Regions from separate parts of the Homo sapiens genome. Here region 1 is linked to region 2. Evidence: promoter capture Hi-C in human tissues and cell types (Jung and others, 2019). All regions are on one chromosome and are shown on one strand. Each heading gives the region's core, a stretch centred on a gene start or on the middle of the fragment in contact. The rest is flanking DNA. Distances are from core to core; before and after follow the strand shown. Region 1 overlaps CEP85L (centrosomal protein 85L). Region 2 holds the start of GOPC (golgi associated PDZ and coiled-coil motif containing).

Evidence for each region. The method cuts DNA at HindIII sites, captures the fragments that hold promoters and counts their contacts. A contact is called where the count stands out against the background at its distance.
Region 1: a fragment that was not itself captured here is called in contact with the fragment with the promoter of GOPC in region 2 in 1 of the 25 tissues and cell types used here (dorsolateral prefrontal cortex).

Annotation. Positions count from the first base shown.
Region 1 is chr6:118,634,064-118,641,840 of GRCh38, reverse strand. The region is part of intron 1 of CEP85L (centrosomal protein 85L); the gene reads left to right. Among named protein-coding and RNA genes, the nearest start is that of CEP85L, 14 kb to the left of the region's middle. The HindIII fragment of the contact is 3,873 bases long and covers 2,970-6,842 here.
Region 2 is chr6:117,597,883-117,604,716 of GRCh38, reverse strand. GOPC (golgi associated PDZ and coiled-coil motif containing) reads left to right here and starts at 2,206. Exons shown (of 9, transcript NM_020399.4): 1 at 2,206-2,713. The coding sequence starts at 2,429. It also overlaps the pseudogene NEPNP. RefSeq lists enhancers at 1,815-2,104, 2,235-2,324. The HindIII fragment of the contact is 7,482 bases long and covers 1-3,949 here.

The sequences.
Region 1 (7,777 bases), core at 3,657-6,156, 1.0 Mb before region 2:
TTTTTTTTTTTTCTCTTGCAAAAGGAATGTTGAAGTGTGTGCATGGGAGGCATCAGCTTGACTATTTTCTTGTTTGTTTATACTTACATTTTTAGTATTATCTTCAGGTTTTTCAACTTCAGGTTTCTTTGCAGTAATATAGAGCCACAAATCCATTTTGTGAGGGCTAGTTTAAGTAAAACTACCTAATGTTATCGATATGCAAATCTGCTTAACCAGCCATGAACTGCAATGCATACCCATACGAAAAAATCAAATGAACAAAGGAGGATGTCACCGTCAAGCCCTCTGTATAGAGCACCTCCGTTTATGTTATATATATGTAACATAATGCTCTGATAATCCAAGTAAGGGCACTAGTGTTAACCTGTATGTTAAATATTATAGCAAAATTTAATGCATTACTTTTTCCTAAAGATAATTTTCAGTATAAACAAGTTTTTTTCTTCCAGCAGCTTGCCAGTGGATTGGCTCGTGTACTCCCTGGCATGCATGTATTCACTTTGCAGATCATAGAGATAGAAAGCTTATGCTTAATCTCTTGGAATGATGTTAAAAAAGTGGTGGTTATCAGAGAGATGGGCATTGGGTTTGTGTTTTGAAGGAGATAAGTAGTTGTAAACATGCTAGTAAGATATTAAGAGAGAAGCTGGTGACAGTGTAGATGTCCTTGATTAAATAGGGAGGGAAAAGAGCAAGGTTAAAAACTTGGAAGAGAGTGGGGTACTGTACCTCATGAGGAGCAGAAGAATTATTGTTATGTGGTATTTGTCAGATGATTTTTTTCTTCTCATTATTAAAGTTACACATGCTCAGTAAAATGTTGACTCAGTACAGAAAAGCTTAAAGTGAAGTAAGCTTTTTTATCTACCTTTCATGTCAGTCCTCCACTCCATTTTTAATAGTTTTTAGTTATCCTTCTGGAAAATTTCTATGCATGGACAGTAATAAAAATAATAACATTTATTGAGATCCTAATTATATGTCTGGCACTTTCAAAAATATATTTACAGGCCAGGTGCAGTGGCTCACGCCTGTAATCCCAGTACTTTGGGAGGCTGAGCAGGCGGATCACTTGAGGTCAGGAGTTCGAGACCAGCCTGGCCAACATGGCGAAACCCCATCTCTACTTAAAAAAAACCTAAAAAATTAGCCAGACATGGTGGTGTGTGCCTGTAATCCGCACAACTTGGGAGGCTGAGGCAGGAGAATCTCTTGAACCTGGGGGATGAATGTTGCAGTGAGCCGAGACTGCACTACTGCACTCCATCCTGGGCAACTGAGAGAGGCTCTGTCTCAAAAACAATAACAACAACAAAAAACTTTACATGTTCATTGATCACAACAACCCTATAATATAGGTACTATTCTATAATTTTTTTCTTCTCTTACATATGAAGAAATTGAGGCACAGAGAGGTTAAGTGATTTATGAGGACTTACTGCTAATAAGAGGTAGAATGAACTTGAACCCAGGTAGCCTGGTTTCACAGTGCACACTGAGCTATACTGGTAATTCTGTGATAAAAGAAACAAACTAAGACTATTGGAGTCACTTACCCTAGAGATAAATAGTACTGAAATGGAGTGGAGGATTGGGATGGAGAAAATAACACTATGTGATGTTTCTGTCATCTTAGCTAGATATTCTGCAGTGTAGTTCCAGATTTGTTGGTTTTTTCTGTTTGGCTACTGTTAATATGAACGTTTTTTTCTTACCGTTTAATGTTCTAATTTTTTGTGTGAGTTTTGTGTCTTTTTAACCTATTGGAGACTGTTTTCCCATGTTAGGAATGTTGGCCATCAGATCTCTAAATTATTTAAAATTACCTTAAAAAAAGCTGCATTGATAAATATTTACTGATCTCTAAATAGATACTTAAATGCATACTGGCTCAAGGGATAGTTTAAAATATCCTGGATTTTAAAATAAGCAGACAACAACCACCAAACAAAACGCTTGTTTGAATCCTTTTTCTGAACACAAAGATATTTTTGTAGTTGTAATTGTAAGGCTTCCAAAATTCTAATTTTATTCTGTGAACATTTGTTAGGTATCCAGTGGTTATAATGACTACATTTATTGAGACCCTGTATAAGTGTGCAGCTCTTTGCTAGGTACTGGACACTAAAAAAAGTTGCCTTTCATTTTTCACAGTTTGGTGAGGGAGAAGAAAGTCATATACATATGGGTTAATATAATTTATTAAATGTTGTTGGAATTTTGAATAATATATTGGGAGTGAACAAAGTATTTAATGCCACCTGGAGGAATCAGGGAAGACAGAACAAGTTAATTCTGAACTAGGACTCTTAAGGTGCAGAAGTGAAACAGCTTGGAGTCATGAAAGAGTCTCATCTGTTTGGAGGAAGTGATTAGGTAAGTGTGGCTAGATAGTTTTTGTAGGTAGAAGTTGCAAAGTGAAGCTGACAATTGGTGAAGAACTTTGCCTAACTTAAGGAGTTTGAATTTATTTAATATGCCGTAAGGGGCTCACAGATCTATGTAAGTAGAAGAATAACATAAACATGCTTGATTCTAGAAGATAGTAGAGTAGAGGCTGGCTTGAGTGGAGTTATTCCAGCAGCAGAATAGGTTCTTTGTGCAAAAGTACTTGTTAATATTTCAGAGATGTTAAAATGTGAACCGCGTGCTACTTATGTAATATAAGGGTAAACATGCTTTATCTACTATTTTATTTGAAAGTGTTGGTTTCCAAGTTGATTTTAAAACATACTAATGGGTGACAGATAATCTGCATTCTGAAAAACATTGCAATTTGTATTCTCGATTTGTATTATGTATTCAGCTTATTTAAAAGTATAAATCTGCTTTGTCAGTAGTGTTATTTTTATTTTCTTCAATTTAGAGCTGTCATTAAAATATTCAATGAGAGTAGTTCTTGTTCTCAGTGCAGTTACATATATATTCAAATGCTGTGGAATACTTGATACTGTATGCATTTTTGCTTCCAATAAAAGAGCTTCAGAAGTAAAATAGGTTGCTTTTTTATTTAATGCTAATCTTCCTGTCTGAGAAATATTCAGAATTTTTAATGTTATCCGCAGGCACTCAGTATTCTATTAAAATAATTAAAATTAGTATTAAAAAATTAGTATTGAAAAATGTAACATATTGTCTTCCAAGGAGGAGTTCCAATGTAGAGTTTCTTGGGATCTTTGCTGTTCTTACAGCAGTCCTTTTGTCTTTAGGTAAGACATTATTGCCAGAGGTTATTCAGCCTTATTTTGAGTTTTTAAGTGCATATTGCATACTAGATATCAATATTCCCATTTCAGTAACATAGTCTTGTAACTATTCTGTGAGAAAATTTTCCTTATTAAATCACCTGGTCAGCATATTTCACATGTACTTCTTCCTGTATTGTGCTTCTGGATTGACTTGTCTAAAGACAAGTCATGTCATTCTTTTCAGACTGTGAATTTTTTCAGTTTAAATTAAAAGATTAGAATGTTATTTTCATGACATTTGTTAATCATCTTCAGTGTTTGAGGCACATACAATACCAGATCTTCTTTTTAAAGACATAGTTATGTTTAAAGGTTAAGGCAAATTAGTTCAGGTGGGAGGAGATCAATTTATATAGTTAATTCTTTTCCTTTTTTTTTTTTTGAGACGGTCTCACTATGTTGCCCAGGCTGGTCTCGAACTCCTGGGCTTAAGCAATCTTACCTTGGCTTCCTGAGTAGCTGGTATTACAGGCATGTGCTACACATGATGTATATTGCCTAATAGCCTATCAAAAGGTTGTGTTTTTGTAATGAATAAATTAACATTACCATTATCAGTGTATGGGAGTATCTAGGAACACTGTTGTTTTGTTCTTTTAACATTTTTGCTAGATTGATAGCTGAAAAATAGCATGTCTTCTGAATTTGATACTACTTGCTTACCAGTGGGCTTGGACTATTTTTCAGAATTTTTTATTTGTGTTTTTCCCTTTGGGGTTTGTCCTTTGTCCATTTAGACTAAACCATTTAGTATTTATTTATTTATTTTTAGTTTGCTTATGATCTCTTTATAATTATGCATTAATACCATATCTGCAAATATTTTTAGTGTTTGCCTTTAACTTCTTAAATATATAGACAACTTTTTTTTTTTTTTTTTTTTTTTGAGACAGTCTTGCTTTATTACCCAGGCTGGAGTGTAGTGGCATGATCTCGGCTTACTGCAGCCTCCACCTCCTGGGTTCAAGTAGCTTAGCTTCCCAGGTAGCTGAGACTACAGGCATGTGCCACCATGCACAGAGGCATTTTTTTGAATTTTTTTTTTTTTTTCTTTTGTAGAGATGGGCTTTTGCCATGTTTTCCAGGCTGGTCTTAAACTCTTGAACTCAAGCTGTCTGCCAGCGTTGGCCTCCCAAAGTGCTGGGATTACAGGTGTGAGCCACCTTGCCCGGCCTAGACAACAATTTGATGATTTATGTGGTTTGCTTACTTTTTGTGTCCTTCTGTAAAAGTCAGAGGTTCAAGTTTATAAGGTGGCAGTACACTGAAAGAAATTTTAGGAAGATCATTTCCCTGAGTTGCTAAATAAAAAGGCTCTAAGTATGTATGTACTGCTCTGTGATTCAAAGATAGAATTTAGGGTTTCTAGAGGGGCGGAATGATAGCATGTCTTAGACCATTTTCTCTGTCATTTCTTATAGCTTTTTTTGTATAAAAGTTAGATAACAGATAGTTGAGATTGTACTGATGTGCTTTGGAAATCTGTGGAATAGGTATCATATTGAGTAGATGATATTGAAATACTGTAATGGAAATTGAGGATTACAACTATTGTTCTTTTCTAAATAGAAGGCTGTCCCCACTTTTTCATATCTGTAGGCAAGATTAGAATTTTTCTAGTTTTCCCAATATTGTATTGAAGTTCTCCAGAGAAACAGAGCCAATAGCATTTAATTAATTAATTAAGAATTGGCTCATGAGATTATGGTGGCTGACAGGTCCCAAGATCTGTGAGGTGATTTGGCAAGCTGGAGACCTGGGATTGTTGATAGCATAGTTCCAGTCTGAAGGCTGGCAGGCTCAAGCCCCAGGAAGAGATCAGTTCAAGCTTGAAGGTAGGAAAAAGCCAGTGTACTAGTGTATTTAATCAAAGGGGATCAGGCAGGAAGAATTCTCTTCTGCTTAGGGGATGGTTAGCTTTTTTGTTGTGTTCAGGCCTTCAGCTGGTTCAGTGAAGCCCACCCACATTATGGAGGGCAGTCTGCCTTATCCAGTCGACCAATCTGAATGTTGAGCTCATCCAAACACCTTCACGGAAGTAATGTTTGACTGCATATCTGGGCACCCCATGGTCCAGTCAAGTTGTCATGTAAAATTAACCATCACACATATTTGACATTGTCCAGGAGTTCCATACCATATGGATAAACTGAGATCATTTATTCTGGAAAAAGAAACCTAAAACACTTGTTGACATTTATTTGTCTTTGTAATCCTTGAAAAACCTCAGTAGTGCTTTCATGAATTGTCAGATTCTGGGCAGCCTGGCTTGCTGATATGTACTCTAGGATGAGCTCACTTTTCTTCCAAATAAAGAAATGAATTAATATGCTGGCTGTAGTTACTTATGAATCAGTTGAATTTTAGGGACTCTTTTCAGTTAGAATGATTTTTTACCACATCTCAGGAGTCTGCAAACTGGCCCCCAGGTTTCATTGGACTTGTCACCTGTTTTTGTAAATAAAGTTTTATTACAACATAGCCACATCCATTTTATTGTCTACAGCTGATTTAGACTACAGTGGCAGAATTGGCTAGTTGAGACGGAGATTGAGTGACCCACAAAACTGAAAATATTTACAATCTGGCTCTTGACAGAAAAAGGTTTTATTGAACTGTTTTTCTGGCAATAGTTAATTATACAAGACTAATGATTGAAGGTTGTCCTAGCTTGTGATAATAACACCATAGCATTAATATGTACAGTGGGCTTTCCTCCCCATTACTGGAGTGAGAAAGTGAGTGAGTGGAGAGAGAGTGAGAGAGAGAATGATTATTGCCTTTTAATCCACAAATGGTTTATTGGCCAAGACTTGTCAACAATCAATAGGGTGGAGGTGTGTTGTAGGCTTTAATGGAGCATGACTTTATACTGCTCAAAATAGTTATATTGCCTAAAAGCAAGGGTTTTAATTCTAGCCATTTTATGCAGCTTTTGTAAAAATTGTTACTAGGAATCTGAATTTGCGTATCTTGAGCTATAGCTGGTTTCTAATCTCAGAATCAAATGTTGATGTAATCTGCAAATCAGTATGCATAATTTTCAGCATTTCCCCACATAAACTGGTAGATTGAATAATAATAATAACCAATGATGGAGTAAATGTTCCTGTAATGTATTTCTTCCTTTAGTAAAACATAGTCAGTGTTAGCATTTAGATATAGAGCTCCCTGAAAGCTTCTTCCATGTATGTAAATGTACAAACTCTTCTCCAGCTGTGGAATCATATTATGTATATAGCTACATAAAATGCTTCTCTTCCATACACACTAGATATATTCTGGATGTTCTTCCATGTTAAAAAATAGGTTGATAAAATCATTTTTAGCACTTAAACATTATCAACTAATTAACAGTTTATATTTTGTTCATAGGCATTTACTTTAAGCAGTGCTGTCAGGAATGTCCTTATACTCATATTTATTTGTAATTGTCTGATATTTCCTTAGGATAAATTCTCAGTAGAAGGTCATGTCTATATTGACATTTAGATACCACTTTCCAGTTTGCCCTTTAGAAAGGTTGTACCAATTTGCAAGGCCACAAAAATATACGAACATTCCCCTCACTTGGTTGACACCAGTCTTTCTTTTATCAACTTGATAGTTTTAAAAATCCAGAAAATTTATTGTCTTTTTCACTTCTCCCACCATTAGTGAGATTTGGCATCGTTTCTTATATTTATTTTTTCATTTACATATAGTCCCAGCCTATTTATGCTATTTGCTGGGTATTCTTAAAAAAAAATAATTATCCAGCTAATAGGTTTGCACTTGTGAGACTAGGCTGGTTGCCATTTTTGATAATAGTTTAGGCAGGACTTTGAGCTCATTTAGATGGGATGTTACCTGATTGAAAAAAAATTTTGGTATAGATTACAGACCACAGATCAGAATTAGAATAGATCTGGTGACAGAACACCTTCTTCTGGTGCTTTAATGTGAGTGTTGAATCACTTGAATTGAAAAGTCTCATTCTGAGAGAAGTCTAGAATCTACAAAGCTTTAAGTGGTTGTTCTGAACCTCAAAGCTGGTAAAAGTGTCTCTTTGGCCACTGTTTTTCAAATTTGATTTGTTAATTTAAATGTATAAGGCTTTTAAGGCTGCTTATATACTTTATACATGTATAAAGCCTAAATTTAATTGATAAATTGCATTTAAATAAATAAATGCATTAAATAAAATAATGTGACAATGTTTTATTAAAAGTGAATCATTAATGTTGAGCTTAGTATGATAGAGGTAGCTTTAGGTCTGGTTTTATTAATTTGTTTATATATTTTGATTTTAATACTGACATAGAGAACAACTAATCCTAAAAGTGTGGTTAAAAAAACTGGTATAATTAATTTTATGCACGTTTGTTGTTTTGTTACCCTTATGTTTAAACTGCCAGAAGGCATTCCTTGCATGCCGGTTTCAATAGGGTATCAATGAATAATTCTGTAAAGCTATCTTCTTTCAAATAATGGTAAATACCCAGTGATGTCATTTGCTCTTTACTTAGAAGCAACTGCTATTTCAA
Region 2 (6,834 bases), core at 957-3,456:
GTGGTGGCTCACACCTGTAATCCCAGCACTTTTGGAGGCCTAAGCAGGAGGATTGTTTGAGTCCAGGAGTTCCAGACCAGCCTGGTCAACAAAGTGAGGCTGCAGTGAGCTGTGATCGTGCCACTGCACTGCAGCATGGGCGACAGAGCAAGATCCTGTCTCAACAACAACAATAAAAGACGTGATCATACCTACCTCATAGGATTTTGTAAGGATCAAAGAATTAAAGAAAATAGCATAATGCCTAACACATAGTAAGGACTCAATAATTGAAAGCTATTATAATTGTGGTTCGATGTATTCTCCCCCTGCCCTGCTAATTTTAAATTATTTACTTCGCGTTCCTGAAAATGCATTGCTAACTGTATTATGTGTAGATAAAGTGGCTGGGAGCTTGATAGCTGTAGCAATGTTTTTGCAAATATTGTAGATGAAAATAAAGCTAATTTTGGAAGGGAATGGGGAAAGATGTAAATTTTAGTTTTACATTATTTATTGTGTACTAAAACCTGTATGAAGGTCCCTACTTAAGTCTAAGGTCAGGATCTCATGATCCATTTTGATTAGCTAAGTTTGCTCAAGCCAAAGGACTTTATTGCTTCATGCTAACCAGTCTGCCATGCAGTACAAAGACTGCAATAATAAAATTGTGATTTCTTGCTCCTCAGTTGCCTTGCATCAGCGAAGGGCACACAATGCAGGCTTTGGGTTGTGATTAACCGTAAGGGTCTGCCCCAAGAACAGATAACAGCAGACTGCACTCAGCTAAATATGCTTCTAGGTAATGCAGGAGTTTCCACCAGCCTACTCTAATCACACAGGTTTCTCTTTCCCTTTCTAGGACTGTCTACCCTTGAACTGGAAGTAGGCAGAATGTAAAGAGAGGAGTTGCTGGATACTTTTAAAGGCACTGAAAAATTCAAGTTAAAGTTATAGTTGAGGGGTAGTAGCCTCACTAGCCTATCTTGAGTAAGGGTCATGTCTCATTCATTTTTGTGTCTTCAATGTCGCAACAGAGCTCTGCATTCAATATATTTGTAAATATATGAATTCACAATTTTGATTTTCTGAAATGTCACGTGTGAGGACACTACCAGTTTTCAAATAAATACACCTTTTAAAGTACAGTTATGTGCCAAATAACAAGGCTTCAGCAATGAATGGATCGCATAAACTATGGTGATCCTATAAGAGTATATGACTGTACCTTTTCTATGTTTAGATATGTTTAAGTACACAAATAGTTACCACTGTGTTATAATCGCCTACCGTATCCAGAATGGCAACATGCTGTACAGGTTTACAGCCTAAGAGCAATAGGCTACATCATATAGCCTGGGTGTGTAGTAGGCTATACTATCTAGGTTTGTGTTTAAATACACTCTAGGATGTTCCCTAAGGGATGATTAACCTAAGGACACATTCCTAAGAACATATCCCCATCTTAAGTGAAGCACTACTGTAGTTGCTTTTGAAATGTGTGACCTATGGTGTATTAAGAGGAATACCGTGTGCCAAGAAGTGACGCTAAGCGTTTTACCTTACAACTGAGTTAAGTAAAATTTGGAAACTTGGTTTCGAGGTTAATACATGAAAGGCGACACAGGTAGTATGTGACAGAGGGTAAGAATTGAATCCAGGTCTACCTGACTCTTAATCACAAGACAAAAAGTCTTCTATTAATTCCGCAAAATCTGGTCAGCCGCTTCAATGCGCAGCTTTAGGCAGTCCACACCTGGAATTTGGGGTCTGGTTTACCAAGAACAGCCAGTGTGTACACCCACTCCATCCTATCCAGGAACTGGAATCGAGAAGGTAAAAACGTGGCTATTGCGCATGCTCACACCGCCCTTCCTTGCTCTCCCCTCCCTGACCCTAGATGCCACCGCAGCAACTTTCTGGGAGGATTTTGGAACGGCTCCCGCCAACTGTTAAGTCAAACCGGCGGAAATCCTTCCTTTCTGCGACGTGGACACCTTTCTCATCCTCGGGCCTTTCCAACCAGGGTGCAGAAACCACGCGCCTCCGTTTCTCAGGGATTCAAGCCGTAGTTTGCCAGTTGTTAATATGGCCGCTGACAGGCCGCTCCCAAGCTGAGGCCTTTCATAGGCCAAGATCGCATCCTGTCCCCGCCTATTTTGTCCCTCGTGGCTGCGTCCGCCCAGCTCTTCGCTACGCATGCGCAGCGGGGGCAGGCTGGGAGGTGGGACTGACTGAGTCTTCCGTGTGTCGCCGCCGTTGCCGCCTCAGCTTCAGCCTCGTTACTCCTGCGGTTCTGTGACTGTGCTGCTGGCGTTAACGGCGCGAGGTGAAGGGAGGTGACGGAGTGTGCCCGCGCGCGCGGGGGTCCCCTCAGTCCCAGCAGTTCCCTTCGTGCGCGGGGGGCGGCGAGGGTCTTCAGCAGTCGGGAGAGGCCCTTGACGGCGCCATGTCGGCGGGCGGTCCATGCCCAGCAGCAGCCGGAGGGGGCCCAGGGGGCGCCTCCTGCTCCGTGGGGGCCCCTGGCGGGGTATCCATGTTCCGGTGGCTGGAGGTGCTGGAGAAGGAGTTCGACAAAGCTTTTGTGGATGTGGATCTGCTCCTGGGAGAGATCGATCCAGACCAAGCGGACATCACTTATGAGGGGCGACAGAAGATGACCAGCCTGAGCTCCTGCTTTGCACAGCTTTGCCACAAAGCCCAGTCTGTGTCTCAAATCAACCACAAGCTGGAGGTGAGCCGTGGGTGCTGGCGGCTATGGCATCCAACCCCAGGCTGCCCGGTGGCGTCAGATGCCATTTAACGCTCCAGTGAAACGACCCTAGAAAACTGCCCACCGGGGCTTCAAATGTGATGGGAGAGTGCATGTCTGAGGAGTGAGGTGAGGGTGGGGGACAAAAAGGGCCCTAGACCGACGTGTGAGTTCCCGGGGTACTGTCGTCCACCTTCCTAGTATCTCTCTGAGGAGGAAACTAATTACATACACCAGCCTCCATTGCACATGTTACATTAACAAACCTAACAAAGATTCTCTGTCATGAAAATACCGTAGGCCACCTTTTGACAACTGAGTTTTGCAGATCTGCTTTCACATTGATAAACCGAATTTGTATATGTTAAGACAGATACAGCACTGATTATTTTCATTTTAATTATTCCAGGTCAGCGCCTATGATTGCATACAGAGACATGCATAAACTATTTAGGGGAATCTGATCAAAGCTCTTAGGAAAATTTCGTGGTGCATAACGATAGTATCACTGTCTCGGTTTACATCCATAGTTGGTTGTTAAATTACAGGCAGATACCTCCAGAGAGCTCCCTGCAATTATTGAAATTACTTCTGACCTTGAGTTTTTATATGCTTGTACATTACTGTGTAATTTTCCAAAGTCTGGATTTATTTTTGAGAGAGTGTAAAGAATCATTTGCTTTAATCTCTGATCCTGGGTGTGGGTGAGGGTGGAGTGGCTGTGGTTCAAAAAAACAAAAATATCATATTGTGCAGAAAATTTAAAAAGGACATTATTAAAATATTTAGAAATCAAGATAGATTAACATTATTGCATAAAGAGTACTTTCTAACTAGGCAATTTAAGAGAATGGGTCTTTCTTTTCAAAAAGTGTAATAGATAAAAATGGGATAATCAGTGATGTGCAAAACTCTGAACATGCTTTCCTAAGAAATCATCATTACTCGTTGTCATTGACAGTGCCCATTATATCTATATCAATATGAATGTCAGTTAAACATCCTCTCCTTGCCTAGTGGTCAGCATTCTTTCTCTCCTATTAGCCATGAAATATGTGGCATAATTAATCTTTGATTAACATAGATTTACATATCCAAGAATTGTGGCTCTTCTCCACTGCGAGAACTGTTAATTTCTTCTATCCTTTTTGAAAAGATTAGAAAGTGCTAATATGAAGGTAATCACTTCTTACTGTAGGTAAATGAAAACATCTCTTGATTTCTTTATTGGTAGTAATTTCCACAAGAAAGCTATTTTTCTCAGATAGTGAAATTGCATTTAATGTTTTCTAGAAATAGTACTTTAACTTTATTTCATCTTATTTTATCTTATTATATTTTTTTCAAAAAAGAGATGGAGTGCTTTGTTGCCCAGTTTGGTCTTGAATTCCTGGCCTCAGGTGATCCTCCTGCCTTGGCCTCCCAAAGTGCTTTGATTACAGACATGAGCTACTGTGCCTGGCCATTAGTTCTCTAGCTTTAAACAACAAAGATCAAGAGTAGCCTTTACCACATGGTATAATTCGAATGTGTCCCCCAAATTTCGTGTATGGGAAACTTAATCCTCAATGTGACAGTATTGAATCTCCAATGTGGGGCCTTTAAGAGGAGACTGGATCATGAGTACTCTGTTCTTATGAATGGATTAATCCACTTATAGATTGATTTGTTATTGGATAAATGGATGAATGAGTTATCATAGGAGTGTAGAACTGGTGGTTTATAAGAAGAGGAAGAAAGACCTGAGTAAGCATGTTAGCATGCTCAGCCTCCTTGCCATGTGACACCCTATGCTGCCTCCATACTCTGCACAGATCCCCTGCCAGCAAGAAGGCTCTCGACTTCTCGAGATCTGGCCCCTCGACCTTGGACTTCTCTGTCTCCATAACTGTAAGAAATACATTCCTTTTCTTTATAAATTACCTAGTTTCTGGTATTCTGTTATAAGAAACAGAAAGTGGACTAAAACATCACACGAGAAATTTCATATCATTTACAACTGCAGTATCAACTGGGCATTAACAACTTTTTAAAAATGAAACAATATTTTATTTATTTTTAAAATGACCTAAGGAAACTTTAAACAGGGATTTGATGTCAGATATAAAAATTGAAATTGGGAGGAAGGATAATTTTCTCAGTAGGAGGCTGTGCTCCATTTTTTTTGTCTTTAAATATTTTAGATGAGTATTCAGAATTGTAATAAATTATGCATGTTCTTTTTTCAGAAATTAAAATCACACATTCTGACTTTATGTCCTGGTTTAGGAGGTTGCATTGTTTCTCAAAATAGGAAATGCTAGCATATCACAATGTGAGCATATTTTTTATGCTTGAAACTGTTGATTTAAAGATCATAGGAAAATGGGGAGGGGAAAAATCCTAATGATTTTGGTTTGTTTGTTCATTTGTTTGTGTTTTTTCAGTTACAGTCAACTTGTTTGTCTTTGATGTTAATCTGTACACGTTTAGCAGCTTCTGCCGTTTTTATGGAATCAATTGTGTATTGCTGTGGAAAGAAGTTCATTGTCAGCAGTGCCTTTCAAAGTAGACTTGCTGCTGTTCCATCTACAGAATTTCAGTGGTTGCTCCATATATTGTTTGAAAGCTTGAAACAATTTCCATATTTTCTTGCCCTTTTTTACTTTTTAGGAAAAGGATTGAATTTGTTCTATTGTTTTAATTATATGGACATTAAGACATATTTGAAACCACTTATGGTTTAATATGACAAACGTGACATTCAGTGGTTTCAGAGGTTAATACCTTTAATCATATTACTGTAATAAAATATTTTTATATAATGAAGAAACAGATACCTCCAATTTGGGTAATTTATAATGTAGTTAACATTAAACACTATATTTATTATTAAAATATTAAATTTTGCTGCAAAAAAATCATAGGTTACTTTTTTACTTGAATAGGCTATTAGGGCTATTCTTTTTTATTTTTAATTGACATAATAGTCGCATCTTTTTAGGGGGCACAGTGTGGTATTTGGATACACATAATAATGATGAAATTAGGGTAATTAGCATATCTGTCACCTCAAACATTATTCATGTTAGAAACAATTCAAAACCTGCTCTTCTAGCTGTTTGAAAATATACATTAAGCTACTATTAACTGTAATCATCTTATGGTGCTATAGAATACTAGAACTTTTTCCTCTTATTTAGCCATAATTTTGTTACCCCGGGCTGTGGACCAGTACTGGTCCGTGGCTTCTTAGGAACTGGCTGAACAGCAGGAGGTGAGCAGTGGGCAAGAGAGCATTACAGCCTGACCTCTGGCTCCTGTCAAATCAGTGGTGGCACTAGATTCTCATATAGATTCTCATAGTAGCACAAATCCTGTTCCTGTTGTGAACTGCACATGCGAGGTATCTGGGTTGCCAGCTTCTTGTGAGAGTCTAATGTCTTTTGTTGAAACCATCCCCACGCTGTCCTGTGGAAAAATTGTCTTCCACAAAACCAGTCCCTGATGCCAAAAACATTGGTGACCGCTGTGTTAACCAACATCTTCCTACCCGCCTCACCCTTCCCAACTTAACAGTAACCACTGTTGTATTCTCTACTTCTATGAGGTCAACTTTTTTTTTTCTTTTTTTGAGACAGGGCCTCACTCTGTTACCCAGGCTGGAGTGCAGTGGTGCAATCATAGCTCACTGTGGCCTCCAACTCCCAGCTCAGTTGATCCCTCTGCTTCAGCCTCCCAAGTAGCTTGGACTACAGGCATGAGCTACTATACTCAGCTAATTTTTCTATTTTATTTTTTTTTTTTTTTAGTAGAGATGGGGTTTTACTATGTTGCTTAGGCTGGTCTTGAACTCATGGGCTCAAGAGATCCTCCTGCCTCAACCTCTCGAAATGCTGGTATTACAGGTATGGGCCACCATGCCTGGTAAATCAATTTTTTTAGCTTCTACATTTGAGTGAGAACATGCATTATGTATCTTTCTGTGCCTTGCTTATTTTTACTTAATGTCCTCCAAGCTCATCCATGTGGTCTTCAATGCAGGATTTCATTCTTTTTTATGGCTAAGTAGTATTCCTTTGTGTATATATACCACTTTTTTTTTTTTAATCTTTTCATCTGTT